Linked DNA regions of Homo sapiens: regions 2 and 3 are each linked to region 1. Evidence: promoter capture Hi-C in 16 types of primary human blood cells and fetal thymus (Javierre and others, 2016). All regions are on one chromosome and are shown on one strand. The core of a region is centred on a gene start or on the middle of the fragment in contact, and the rest is flanking DNA. Distances in the headings are between cores, read along the strand shown.

Region 1 (4,490 bases), core at 1,650-4,149:
GCACACCTATACTCCTATCAAAATTAATTTCTCACAGTAGCACTACAAAAGGGGAGTATGTTTCAGAAAGCATTTTAAATTTTTACATGAGGTCATGAAGTTAGATTTTTCTCACAAAAATTTTCAACTTATATTACATGAGAAATGTTAAGACTCAAATATTCAAACAAAATCAGTTGTGAATATTCAATCTCATATTTTAAGAAAAATTTAGTTTCACAAAACAATTTTATTAGTATTTTCATTGTAAGAGCAAATTAAAAAAGAAGCATTCTATTAGTTTTGAAACATAAAACTATTAGAGCAGTTATTTAAAAATAAACGTTTCTCACTTCAGTGCTCGGTTCGAAATCAGGGTGTGTGAAGGGTCCAGATCGCTCGAGGAACTTCTTTACATGGTTCCAGCGACCTTCCCAGTCTCCAGTGTCCCCACACCCACCATCAACAGCCATTCTGCACAGAACACAGTAAATTCAGCTGCAAAGATCAGTATGAAAAAAACCACACCTACAACTATTATGGTATCCCCAAATGAAAAGGTAACCACACCAGACCTGCTCAAATAAAAAGGAAAATATTCAATGTGATTATGTTTATGCTTTGAAATTTTTTCTTGCCTATTATACAATTCATTTAAAGTTAAGAACTGCACGTTTCTATTTTTATTTCACCCAATGGATGAAATAAATCAGTCTACATGTTTTTGGTTTCCTAAAGCAATCCAAGGTTCAACTTAGGATATTGGTCTATTATGTGAGAAATTGACTTCTCTACATTTGGTATTTACAAAAAAAACACTGCAAGCTTCCTCAATCTGTTGTTTCATCACACTTGCATTAGGAAATATGAGATACAACAGAGAAAAAAAGTCACACTTTCAGAATTCTGATGCTTATATGTCTGATGCAAATTTAATATTTATGTGTCCTTTCCAAAGGTGTAATCTAAAAATCACTTTGATGAGAGGAATTTTCACACACTTTTCTCAGAAATAAGGTTATTTTTTCTTTTTCTTTTTCTTTTTTTGTGACAGAGTCTCACTGTGTTGCCCAGGCTGGAGTGCAGTGGTGTGACTGCAGCTCACTGCAGCCTTGCCCTCCTGGGCTCAAGTGATTCTCCTGCCTCAGCCTCCCAAGTAGCTGTGCCTACAGGTACATGCCACCATACCCAGCCAATTTTTGTATTTTTAGTAGAGACGGGTTTCGCCATGTTGCACAGGCTGGTCTGAAACTCCTGAGCTCAAGTAATCCGTCCACCTCGGCCTCCCAAAGTGCTGGGATTACAGGCATGAGCCACCGAACCTGGCAGAGGTCTTAATTTTTTAAAGAATCTCTTAATGCTGTGGGACGGCTTTTCTTGCCACTAAACACAAAGTTTCAGATTACAATTACGCCACAGATAGACATCTACAAACCTTTTAGAACATACAACAGAATAAGGTGGGACTCCTCTACAAAATTCATCTATTTTATACTTAGTTAAGATTCACGTTTGGTTGTGATTATTTTTAATTTTCTAATTTCCTATAACTCCACAGTTTCTACCGTCAAATATATTAGTAATATCCAATTTTTACAAAAGGGACCAAGAAGTATTGCCTAGCAATAAAAACCATACGTTTTGATGTCAGAGTTGTGTTGGGTTCCACAATTAACAGCACTGTGACCTTGAGCAGATTACTTAATAGACATAAACCTCATCTGCAGGCCGTTCATAGCTACTTCTTTCAGCCATGAGGATATAGATAATCACACAGAAGACTCAGTACAGTACGTGGGATATGGTAAGCAATGTTTAATTGTGATTTCATGTAAAAGTGGGAGGGAAATAAAAGGCAGGAAAGAATGTGAAATTAAGTTTGTCATCCCGGTCCTCTTGCAGCTGAAATTCAACTGAGGGACACACATAAAGATCAAAGCACTGCTACTGGGAATCGGCACGGAAATTTACAAACTCACCATAACCAATGCAAGAGTATTTTTTCCCTGCCCAGGCAGGGAGGGGAGTAAATTATGTGGCGCTGGCCAGGTTAGAAAACACTTCGATTAAATCTGTCTCACCAGCATAGAATTAAGCATCTGATAAGAAATAGGGTGTGTAGTAAAAGGGATAAATAGGCTGTTTGAAGTCAACAACCTCTTTCCAGATCTTTTAAGAGCCAATTATTCTGCCAAAATGACTGGAGTGCTTAGTACAATACCTGACATGTAGAGTTATCATTAAAAGTTTGCAATTAGTACTACTGTCTCAGTGTTTGCAAAAGGCCACAAAACGGTCTTGTGTCCTTTTCCTGTGTGTTTAAGGTAGATTGCCTTTTCACAGGGTCACTGCTCTGACAATTTGGGATGGAGGAAGAGGAGTGCACAAGGGTCCTTCCTCAAGACCTTTACGTCAAGCACCCCGGAGGGCCCCTGCAGGAGCTGGGGCAGTACAGCCTGGCCCCGACGCCCGCACCGGGCAGATACCGGGAGCGGCCCGCCAGGCCCCCGGGGCTGCGGGGCGGGGATCAGGGGATGAGGCAGCGCGGCCTGCGCTCCGGGTGTCCCCCTCCCAGCCCCCCGGGCCCGCTGCGGCTGGTCCCCTAGGCCTGGGGTGGGGGGAGGCGGGGGTCCCCGGAGAGGGCCCCGGCCTCCCGGCAGCACTAACTTCTCAGCCAGCAGCTCCTCTATTCTCCTTCTTTTCTTCTCCCTAAAAGAGAGAATAAAAGAAGGGTCAGCATCGCGCTACACACTGGGCGCCGCGAGGGGAGGGGGGCGAGGGGACGGGGCGGGGGGTGTGGGGACCCCGGGTGGCGGCGGCAACCGCCCACCGCCGCGCTCTCTCACAACCCAGCCCAGCCCGGCGCGTCTGCAGAGCCCCGGTACTTACGGCTCCTCGCCATCCGCCATATTGTTCTCCGCCTCTTCCCAGGTGCCCACGCGCGGCAGGGCGGGGAGGAGCGGGACTGGCAAAGCGGGGAGGGGCGGGGCTGGCGAAGCGGGGAGGGGCGAGGCCAGAAACACAACCGGCAGGGAGGTGCGAGGTTGACTGCGGCTGGGCTCCCATGGGCTTTAAAGTCTTGCCCTGTAATTATAATCTTAATTACCTACGCTTAATTAGGTGAATCTTATACCGTGCATAATGTTGCTCTGCAGCGTGAAAATGTAGACAATACATTATGCGTTTACACAAACTATATGTTAATACGTAATTATACAAAATATTGGTATATTCTATGAAAAATTCGTGAAGAACCCTCCCAGTATGCCAGAGCTTTCCTCTGGGGGCAAAGATCAAGGAAATTTTCACTTTCTGCTTTTCAGGATGGTTCCAAAGTCTTTGCCTTTATAAGTACTCACTTGAATAATAAATTTATCTAAATCCGTTTACATTGGTGGGGTGGGAGATTATTATTTTCTTTGAACAAATCAGCATTAATATTTTCATGTCACATTCTGTTAGATAAGTTCAGCGGAAACAAAATGATTAAAACTTTTCCTGAGATAAATGTGTATATTTAGATACAAAGAAAAAAGTATAAAGGAAAACAATCACAAAAATCAAAGAATAACTGAGAACACCCATAATCCTATCACCTAAAGATAAATTGTGATAAAAGTTTCAATTATTTTCTTCTAGAGTCAGAAATACAAATATACACTGTGAATCTGGATGGCTGGATAGAGGGAAATGATCATGTTCAAAAATGTATGTATATACACGTACACACACATCTCCTTCTATGGAGTGGGACAAGAATGATATTTGGAATCAAAAGTAACTGATTTTAAATTCTTCTCAGTTGTGAGCTACGAAACCCTTAGACACTTCTATTTCTTCATTTATAAAGTGGGCATAACACTATTCACCTTGTAAGACTGATAATTAAGTAAAATCCAGAGTGGCTCTCAAAATACAGTTCCTGATCAACATCACTTGGGAAGTTTTTTTTAACACAAATTTTCACCCCTCACCGCCCCCACCACGCTCCCCACCGCCCCCCCGCCACCCCACCCTTCAGCCTTCTGCAAAGCCTGGGGTGATTCTCCACTGGTAAAGTTTGAGGGCCACTGAAATGGAGTACATAAAGCCTGATGGGTACTCAGTAAATGTAGCTGCTGTTACTACACTGTGATATTTAACCTCCTCTTGTCCTAGTTTTCAGTGAACCTTAAGGAAAGCTTGTCCTTTATGGTCCCCCAATTAGGTTCAGTTCAATAGCATTCACTGAGCTGAAAGTCAATGCCAGGCAGTGAGCGTGGGAATAGAGTTCACAGTCCCTATCAAGAGATACCAGCCTCCTTCTGCATCACATGTCTCAGCGTCAACTATGAAACTACTTTTTCTTGCCCAGACAACTCCACAGATGGTTTCACTGAGGATTTAACCTCAGTGCTTATCAAAATGGGCTCCTGTAGCCTGAACCCCCAACAATACTGGATACCCTTTGATTAGTGGTAGTGAGCATTGCAACCCTCTCAGATAGTGAAAAGCAGCAGTCACCTTAAAGG
Region 2 (4,809 bases), core at 2,172-4,671, 1.4 Mb before region 1:
CTGCACTATTGTCCTTTTGGGCTGGACCATTCTTTGTTGTGGGGGGCTGTCGTATGCATAATGGGATATTTAGCAGCATCCCTGGCCTCTACTATTATATGCAGTAGCAAATGCCCCCTCCTTTACACTTGTGACAATCAAAAATCTTTCTAGATACTGTATCTTTCTAAATGTTGTAATGCCAAATATCCCCTAGAAGCATGATATGGTTTTGGTGTGTCCCCACCCAAATCTCACCTTGAATTGTAGCTCCCATATCCCCACTTGTTGTGGGTAGTTACTGAATTATAGGGGTGGGTTTTTCCCATGCCATTCTCATGATAGTGAGTAAGTCTCACAAGATCTGATGGCTTTATAAAGAGCAGTTCCCCTGCACATACTCTCTTGCCTGCTGCCATGTAAGATGTGCCTTTTGCCTTCTGCCATGATTGTGAGGCCTCCCCAGCCATGTGGAACTGTGAGACCATTCAACCTCTTTTTCTTTATAAATTACCCAGTCTTGGGTATTTCTTCATAGCAGTATGAAAAGGGACTAATACATGGGGGTGGGGAGGAAGAGTAAAATCTCCCCTGGTTGAGAACCACTATTATAAATATTTGTTCTTAGAGCAGAAATACCGTAACACTTAATATTGCCAATCTCACCTTTTTGACCTTTAATAATCCTAGATATATCTCCTCCCTCCACTAAAAAACCACTAAAAACAACAAAGATTATTGCATGAAATGTTTTATTTTCATATATCTCATCTTTTAGAGTGGATTAATTTTTTAAAATTATAACAAGAGGGAGGCAAAAAGTTTTAACTCATGAAGCAATCATTAAATGAATTAAAATAGTAATTCTCATGTCATTAGTTTGATTTTAGCCAAGCCAATGAAGCACTATTCTAATATTCTGCACAAAATAGCAAATTTCAATTTGAAAATTCTCCAAGCCATTAATGGTCCTGCTATCCATCTGATTTAGTAAGGGTTCAGAGCATTTGTGAGCTAAACTTTCTCAGGAAGTCATTTTTATACTATCAGCATTAGCCTGTGCCATTAAGATCAGCTTTTCCTTGATACAATGAGTTTTTATGTTATTGTCTGTGTCTTGTGGAAAAGTATAATTTTTAATGAAAGAAACCTAAGATTCTTTCATTAGGCTCCAAATTAGGCTCCAAATTCCCCCACTGTGATTTCATCTCATCAGTCTGTGCAAGGGGAGAGTTTGGTATTCCAAAGAAAATCAATTCAAACTACTAAAAACAATTGAAAAGTGTGAAAAATATTTTTTAAATATTTGAGTATGACTCAAAATACATGCTTTATTTATTGGTCAGCGTGAACAACCCCAGAAGGAAAAAGAGTGCTGTTGTTAAAGGTATCTGGCATCATGGACCCAACCATCACCAGGAGTTTCTCACTTCATCTCTGGTGAGTTTCTCTGTTTAGCATTCCTTTCAAAGTAGGTTTTTTCTCAAGGTGGGGAACCTAGGAGCTCCAGTGTCACATCCATACTTCATTATGACCAAAGAGGAAAGATAGCCCTAGCTCAAGTCTCAAAATATCTAAAAGACCCTCATGAGGTCAGCCGGAGTCCCAGGTGTATTCCTGGAAATCTCAGTGGCCAAAGAGGTGGCTGCCATGCCGTTTCAAGTCAGATTCAGGTACAAGAGGTTTTATTAAGGAAATTTTCTTAGTAGAAAATGGTAAGGGTATATGAAGGCAGGATAAAGAAGAGAAAATTCCTGGTCAAAGCTGCAATTTCAGATGAAGTGCCAGCCTTGGGCCACAGAGAGCTTAGAGCATAAATTACATGTCAGAATTTGTCCCCTTCCACAGCAAGGGAGCTGGGCAAAAGCAACATTGTGCCAGTCATTGGTTACAGCTTGCCTTGGTCAGTGGGATGTAAACCCTGGCTCTCTATATGCATGGCAGCCCTGTTAGCTCCAAGGTAATCCTCTGAAGAAGGTTGCAGATACAAACTTTGCAGCAAAAGGAAGAAGTAGTTGGGGGCTGGGCACACAGCATTTGGTAGAGGGGATCTGAAAGGGCTGCATGGTGTTCCCTGCACACACCTATTCCTAAGTGTCCAAAATGTTGGGTCTCTATGATTGGCAACCCCAATAAGCACCATGCTTTTGAGCCAGGGAGGAGAGATTTACCAAAAGAGGGACTATCCTGTTGCTCTTTTGAAGAAGAAAGAAGTGATGGGCAGACAAAATCTGTATAGCTTCAGCTGATTTGGACTTACCAAAGTTGACCCCAAGCAAGTTGCATTAAGGTCCGATAAACACACACTTAGAAAAGGACAGTTGCATTTACTGCGCACCTAATACTGTTTTGTCAACAGCTTTATTGTAGTATAATTTGCATACAATAATGGCACACATTTAATGTGCACAGTGTGATAAATTTTGACATATGTATACATCCATGAAGCCGGCACCACAATCAAGATAATGAACATCTCGCTTACCCCAGAAGTTTCCTGTGCCCTGTCACTCCTCCGTATTCCTCCATCCTCAGGTAATCACTCATATACTTTCTATCACTATAGATTATTATGTATTTTCTAAAATGTTATATAAATAGAATCCTAGAGTATATACTCTCCTTTGTCTGTTGTATTTATTTTGAGATTAATTCATGTTGGTTTCTGCATCAGTCGTTCATTCCTTTTTATTGCTGAGTAGCATTCTGTTGTAAAGACATACCACAATTTGTTTGTCTGTTCACCTGTTGATGGCCTCTAACACTTTTACATGTCATGTTGCATTTATCTGTCATATTCTTTTCACACTACTGTGAGGTAAGTCTTATTATGCCCATTTAAGGGAAGATGCATTTAGACTTCAGAGAGAGAAACTAAGTTACCTAATTGCTCAGCTAATAAGAAACAGAGCTTAGATCTCTGTTTTTTAACTCAGTAAAGCCTATGTTTTTTTTCTTACTTCACCATCTTTCTAAGCACAGATCTGCACACAAAGTTAGATACTCATTAGTTGATTTTTATCTACTCTAATTAGCACAACTTACATATTCAGAAAAGCTTCTCCAATTTTATATGCTTACTTTCAGCTTTGATGCTGTATTTATACCACAGTTGGGAAATAACCTATTTTCTTCTCTGTTTTCTCTTCAAAATAATAAACCAGAAGAATTCAGTATCCAAAATTTGGTCGTTTTTACTCTACTATACTGAACAATTAGTCCATTTTACTATCATGCCAAACAGCTCACACTTTAACAAATCAACACTAAGTGTGCTCTATTCAGATGCCTTGAAATTTCAAAGTAAAATGGCAAATGATACTAGATGAAAAACGTTAAGAATTTCAGCAGATTTTGCAGTGATGAAACTTTGTCTTACCTCTTAGAAAATGCCATTGCGCTGACTTTAGTGCCTTAAACTTCTAAATTGCATTTGACTTACATGTTTTCACTTGTGTGTGTACAGTCTCCCCAATTCAGTTGTGAACTCTTTGAGATCATCTAGCAAGCCAACTCTCTATAAAATCTGTATGTCCGAGTTCAAAGCTCTAACTCCACTCAACCCAGATGGTATACATTCAAATCCTGTTGGCCTAACATTTTCAAATGGAAAGAATACAATTAGAAAGATTTTACCTGAATTATAGAAGCCTCATAAAGCAGTGAGAGCCTAGAGGCTAAGGAGTCATGGGGAAGTTAAATAAAGTCTTAGTCATGAAGATCCTGTTGAAGCTCTGTCTGTATCCCCTAAGTGCTTGCCTCTGTAGTCAGCTTACTGAAAACCCTTTAATTCTCTCCACCTAAGGTCATTTCTCTGTCTTTGGAAGCAAGCTTGGCCAGCATGCAGGGCAGGCTAGAAGTGCAGAAAGGTTAATGCTCCAGGAATCAATCCTAAACCAATAACAGAAAGTTGGTAGATAAGTACCTTAGCACCTTTGCTTCTGGGAAGGGGTAATTCTAAAGCTGTTCTACTTTGTTTTGAGTTCCCCCAGTGAGTTGGGTTCTGTTACCCACAGCAGTCAGCTGCTCAATAAATCACCCTTTATTATCTTCCTTCTCTGTCTCATGTCTCAGTTTTTCTCCCTCTGTGTCTTGGGATCACTTCTCAAATAAACTTCTTGCACCAAAATCCCTGTCTCAGAGGCTAATATGGGGGAAAGCCAAAGACAGACGTTAACCACCATGGCACGTCTATAGCGTATTGGGTTAAATATTTTATATACATTAATCCATTCAATCCCCATAATGAAGATAAGAGGTGGGTATTTTTATTCTTATTTGATGAATAAATGAAGTCTGAAAAGTTAAGAAATTTACCCATGTTTACACTTTATGTGGCAAAGTCAGGTGCCCTGCGCCCCCAAGTGAGTGAATCCCAACCCTATGTTTTGTATTTTTGTTTTTTTGGTTTTTTTGAGACAGTCTTGCTCTATCACCCAGGCTGGAGTGCAGTGGTGTGATCTTGGCTCACTGCAACCTCTGCCTCCTGGGTTTAAGAGATTCTCATGCCTCAGCCTCCCAAGTAGCTGGGATTACCGGCACCCACCACCACACCCAGCTAATTTTTGTATTTTTAGTAGAGACAGGGTTTCACCATGTTGGCCAGGCTGGTCTCCAACTCCTGACCTCAGGTGATCTGTCCGCCTTGGCCTCCCAAAGTGCTGGGATTACAGGCGTGAGCGACCATGCCCAGCCTCAACCCTATGTTTTACACACTATAAAAACTCTCAGGCTAGCTCCCTTGGAATTGTGGAGTACAGAATTAACCCAACCTCACCTGTTAGCACTGGAAAATGTCAACATCTTTTTCTTATATTTATGATAGTGCCC
Region 3 (4,893 bases), core at 586-3,085, 1.4 Mb before region 1:
GTTGAATATGTCATTGAACTTCTTTAGGCCTCAATTTCTCTACCCATGAAATGAGCTGGCTGGACTAAATGATTGCTAATGTCCATTTCCAGTTCTTGGACACTGTGTACCTTTCTATCTTTAAAAAAACCTACTTTTACCTTCTAAGAATTTACAGAAAAACACATCATCCACAAATATGTAAATCACAGTAACCAGATGGGGCGTGCTAACAGATCTTTTTACCCAGTTTTCTTGACAAACCAAGAGTATCTCTCCCCAACCAGATTTTCTCCTGTGTTGCGTTCAGCCTCTTATTTCTTGGTTAGGGAAGTAGGCTTCACATATTTCAGCTAAACACTCTGCATTTTCAGTTTCTCTGTACAATTCATGAGTTTTCACTGCCCTGGGCCCCATGTTTCTCATCAATTCAAGTCTACACTCATGGTAAGCACCCTAGTTCTTGTTTTTTCTAACACTTAAATAATGAATAGGACTTCATCTCCTAGAGCTATTCTCCTTACTCTATTACAACAGTTATTAGTGAGTTTTAATTAGACAAAACTGCCATTCCTTTTGCTACCTCACTATACTGTCAAGCACCTATTAAGAATATTACAGTAGTAAGTATTAGCACCTTTTAAATTTACATTAACAATAACAGAGAAATGGGGAGGCAGGAAATGAAAGGAGAGGGGTAAAAATAGCTCACAGATGTCATAACCAAAGTTTAGAGGAACTCAAAAAATCATTAATCACTATTTTTTAAATTTTCTAAAAAACTATACTATGCACATCCTGGTTAAAATTGTATGAGTGATAATTTGCCTCTCATCAATTAAAAATGGGGAAATAGGCAAGGTCATTAACTCTGCTGTGGCTGAATCCCAGACTGTGCTTTCTTTAAAAGGGAAGAGAGATAGTCTACGGAGACTAACCAGTTCAGTGGTTGAGTGATTTCTACAAGAGTCATCACCAACTCAAAACTTTCCTGAAGTCCTTCTGACTATTTTAACGCTTGCCATCTGCAGAAGGTAAAAATCTGCTAGAGGCCAAGTTCCAATCGCTATCCAGCCCACCACTGACCCTCTTTGATTTCATTCTCCATCAACAAGGAGGACATGGACAGGGTCAATGGTCTAATGCGTTTTAGTGACAGCCCTGATTTTTCATTGGAAAGAGGAGAAAGATCGTTTCCCATTTTTCTCCTTGACCCACGGATTTGACCAACTCAGGCACATTAAAAGTCTGCAAAAGCAGGTAGCCTGCAGGAAGTTCACCCTAGGGGGTGAGTTCCTAGTTGGGCTGAAACGGGTTTCCAGGCATGTTTATCACGTGGTCTAAACGTGCTCAGGGTTAGTGCCAGAAGTTTGAAAAGCAGAATTAGTAGAGCTGACAATAAAACCTCAGGGCTCCAAAACCCGGTCCAAGAAACTTTTCTTAAACTTGCGTCCAGCGCCTGCTTCAGCGCCTTCGCCATGAGTCTGCGCGGGCAGACAGCGGAGACTCTAGTGCGTTGGGTCGCTCATACCCCGAGGCACCCGGGGCTGCCGCCGCGCCGCCCCTGCCCCACACTGGAGCGGGGTTCCCTGCTGCGCCTGGACCCGGCGCCGCGTCACCTCCCGAAGTGGGGCGCCCGAGGGGCCGCGCAGGGGGTCAGGCGGAGACCAAGAGTAGCAGGGGGCGAGGGAAGCCCGGGCAGGCCGGCGCCGCTGCTGGCGCCCGCAGCTCCTGCCCCCACGCTCACCTGGGACCCGGCCGCCAGGAAGCGGGGCCGCAGCGCTAGGGCTCGCAGAAGCTTCCCGGCCTGCGCTGCTACGGGGGACGCCATCTTAAACAGGAAACTCGGCACGGGGCAGTAGGGCGGGCGCGGGCAGGGGAAGGAGGCGGAGGAGGAGCAGCGGGAGGAGGGGTCAGAGGAGAAGCGGGCGCGGGGAGGAAAAGGAGGAGGAGGCAGAGGCGGTCTGGGCCGGGCCGGGCCTGACCCCTGCGTCCCGGGGGCACAGGCGTTCTTAAGGCTGCAGAGCCCTGGGTCCCCCACCCGGCCCCGGTTCACTTTGAGCGGTCCCAAGGCCTGAGGGCCTACTGTCCAGTCCCCAGGTTATCGTCCTGAGCAAAGACAGACCCCGAGCCCTGCGGTCTTGGGGCTCAAACAGTCCCTGGATGGCCAAACAAGCAAATATTCGCCATGGCAGTGGGTGCTGGAAGGGTGGCTCACGGAGCTGACGCCCTCCGCAGAGAACCGTGGTCTAGTCCTGCGGTCACGAGGCCTATCTGGGACAGTGGTGTTTGAGCTGAGACTTTAACGAATAGAGACAGGTGAGGTTCCTGCAGCCCAGGGCTTCAGGTGAGTCAAGGAGAGGCCATTGGAGGCTCTCCATCCCTTAAGGAGTTGTGGGTGTTTTGTTTTGTTCTATCCTTAACCTAAAATCAATGTAAAGCTGAGAGATGAAGCCGGGTGGGTCGGTTGGGGACTTGGAGAACTTCTCTGTCTAGCTAAATGATTGTAAATGCACCAATCAGCGCTCTGTGTCTAGCTAAAGGTTTGTAAATACACCAGCCAGCCCTCTGTGTCTAGCTAATCAGGTGGGGACTTGGAGAACTTTTCTGTTAGCTAAAGGATTGTAAATGCACCAATCAGTGCTCTGTGTCTGGCTAAAGGTTTGTAAACACACCAATCGGCACTCTGTAAAAACGCACCAATCAGCGCTCTGTGTCTAGCTAAACGTTTGTAAATGCACCAATCAGCACTCTTTAAAAAGGGACCAATCAGCACTCTGTAAAATGGACCAATTGGCACTCTGTAAAATGGACCAATCAGCAGGATGAGGGTGGGGCCAAATAAGGGAATAAAAGCTGGACACCGGCGCCAGTAGTGGCCCCTAGTTGGGGTCTCCTTCCAGGTTGTGGTTGCTTTGTGCTTTTGCTTTTTGCAGTAGCTCTTGCTGCTGTTCACTGTTTGGGTCCGCACTATCCTTATGAGCTATAACACTCACCACAAAGGTTTGCAGTTTCACTCCTGAGGTCAGGGAGACTGCGAACCCACTGGGAGGAATGAACAACTCCGTATGCCCCACCTTCGAGGGCTGTAACACTCACTGCAAAGGTCTGCAGCTTCATTCGTGAAGTCAGCGAGACCACGAACCCACAGGCAGGAACAAACAACTCCGGACGGGCCACCTTTAAGAGCTGTAACACTCACTGTGAAGTCTGCGGCTTCACTCCTGAAGTCAGCGAGACCACGAACCCACCGGAAGGAAGAAACCCCAGATACATTTGAACATCTGCAGGAACAAATTCTGGTCACGCCATCTTTACCGCGAGGGTCTGCAGTTTCATTCTGGAAGTCAGCGAGACGATTAAGAACCCACGGGAAGGAACCAATTCCGGACACAAAGCTATTGGAGGATTTTAAGCCCAGTAATCAGAGTGATAAAAGCAACATTCATTTGGAGCTGTGAACCCCAAATACCTGACACAGGTCTCAATCAATTTAAGAAGTTTATTTGGCCACAGTTAAGGACACGTGCCTGTGACACAGCCTCAGGAGGTCCTGACATGTGCCCAAGGTGTGGTGGAGGACACAGCTTGGTTTTATACATTTTAGGGAGATATGAGACATCAATATATGTAAAATGTACATTGGTTTGGTCCAGAAAAGCGAGACAACTGGAAGCAAGGAGGGGCTTCTAGGTTATGGGTAGATAAGACACAAAGGGTTGCATTCTTTTGGGTTTCTGATTGGCCTTTCCAAAGGAAGCAATCAGCTGTGCGTCTATCTCTGTGAGCAGAGGGATGACTTTGAATAGAATGGGAGGCAGGTTTGCCCTAAGCAGTTCCCACCTTAACTTTTCCCTTTACCTTAGTGATTTGGGAGTCCCAAGATTATTTCCCTTTCACAGAGTTTACGCGAGTCTAAGCAATGTGCATATAATAAAAACAACAGCAAAGTTACTGAATGTGTGCCAAGCATTAGACAAATATAAACTTGTTTAGTCTTCATAGCAAAGTTTTAAATGAGTAGAAGTGTACAATCCCCATTTTGCAGAAGAGAAAACTGAGGTGCACAGAGGTTAAGTAACTTGCCAGAGGTGGCAGGTCTGATAAGAGATGAGATTCACATCCCTTCCACCCACCCCCAAATTAAGCACTATTTTAGATTTTTTTTTTTAACCTTACTCATTCTTGAGCATATGATCATGAAAAAAGGTACAATGTGACATAAGTAGACAGCTGTTGCTACTAGCTTCTTTCCTAATCTCTCTCTTTGGAAAGTGGGGGAGCTGAGGATTTTTATTTTAATATAATTTCTAGCCCATTTCGAGACATAGTTTTACCCACTAGATGTAGCATCTTTTGATGATAAGGATGATGATGATTGTTTAAATCAATTATTGTCACGATGGTGGCAAAGTGGCAAGGTCTAACTCCATCCTACATTTATTAGTCTGTATTCTACTCAGAAAAACTGCACTCTTTCCATCATCTCCATTGATGAAAGAAAAACTTCAGCTAAATTAAATGTAAAGGAGTTTAATTGAGCAATGAACGGTTCGCCAATCGGGCAGCTCCCAGAATCACAGTGGATTCACAGAGACTCCAGCGCAGCCACGTGGTGGAAGAAGATTTATAGAGGAAAAAAGGGAAATGACTTACAGAAATCAGAAGTGAGGTACAGAACAGCTGGATTGGTTACAGCTTGGCATTTGCCTTACACAGTTTGAACACTCAGCAATGTATAAATGGTTAAAATATGGCCACTGGGATTGCCAAGACTTAGCTGTTGTTTTAGGTCCATACTTCTAAGTTAGGTTTTCAATCTTGTCTACCTATTAAGCTAGGTTGCAGTTCGTCCACAAGGACTCAAATATAGAAGTACCGAGTCCTCCTTAGGCCATATTTAGTTCACTGTAA

What was found. Contacts are between HindIII fragments. The CHiCAGO score rates a contact against its expected background, and 5 or more counts as called.
Region 2: a fragment that was not itself captured here is called in contact with the fragment with the promoter of UBA3 in region 1 in 1 of 17 cell types (non-activated CD4 T cells); the score reaches 5.6 in non-activated CD4 T cells.
Region 3: a contact is called between the fragment with the promoter of SUCLG2 here and the fragment with the promoter of UBA3 in region 1, in 2 of 17 cell types (naive B cells and total CD8 T cells). The highest score is 6.7, in naive B cells.

Annotation. Positions count from the first base shown.
Region 1 is chr3:69,077,466-69,081,955 of GRCh38, forward strand. It overlaps UBA3 (ubiquitin like modifier activating enzyme 3), which reads right to left and starts at 2,900. Exons shown (of 18, transcript NM_003968.4): 1 at 2,869-2,900; 2 at 2,647-2,688; 3 at 333-453. The coding sequence starts at 2,888. RefSeq lists silencers at 2,379-2,608, 2,729-2,818, 2,939-3,008. The HindIII fragment of the contact is 3,356 bases long and covers 803-4,158 here.
Region 2 is chr3:67,668,491-67,673,299 of GRCh38, forward strand. It overlaps SUCLG2-DT (SUCLG2 divergent transcript), which reads left to right. Exons shown (of 7, transcript NR_109992.1): 2 at 1,326-1,419; 3 at 2,339-2,514. Among named protein-coding and RNA genes, the nearest start is that of SUCLG2-DT, 16 kb to the left of the region's middle. The HindIII fragment of the contact is 773 bases long and covers 3,036-3,808 here.
Region 3 is chr3:67,652,777-67,657,669 of GRCh38, forward strand. SUCLG2 (succinate-CoA ligase GDP-forming subunit beta) reads right to left here and starts at 1,836. Exons shown (of 11, transcript NM_003848.4): 1 at 1,727-1,836. The coding sequence starts at 1,810. It overlaps SUCLG2-DT (SUCLG2 divergent transcript), which reads left to right and starts at 1,921. Exons shown (of 7, transcript NR_109992.1): 1 at 1,921-2,326. RefSeq lists a silencer at 1,448-2,127 and an enhancer at 1,643-2,142. The HindIII fragment of the contact is 5,512 bases long and covers 1,776-4,893 here.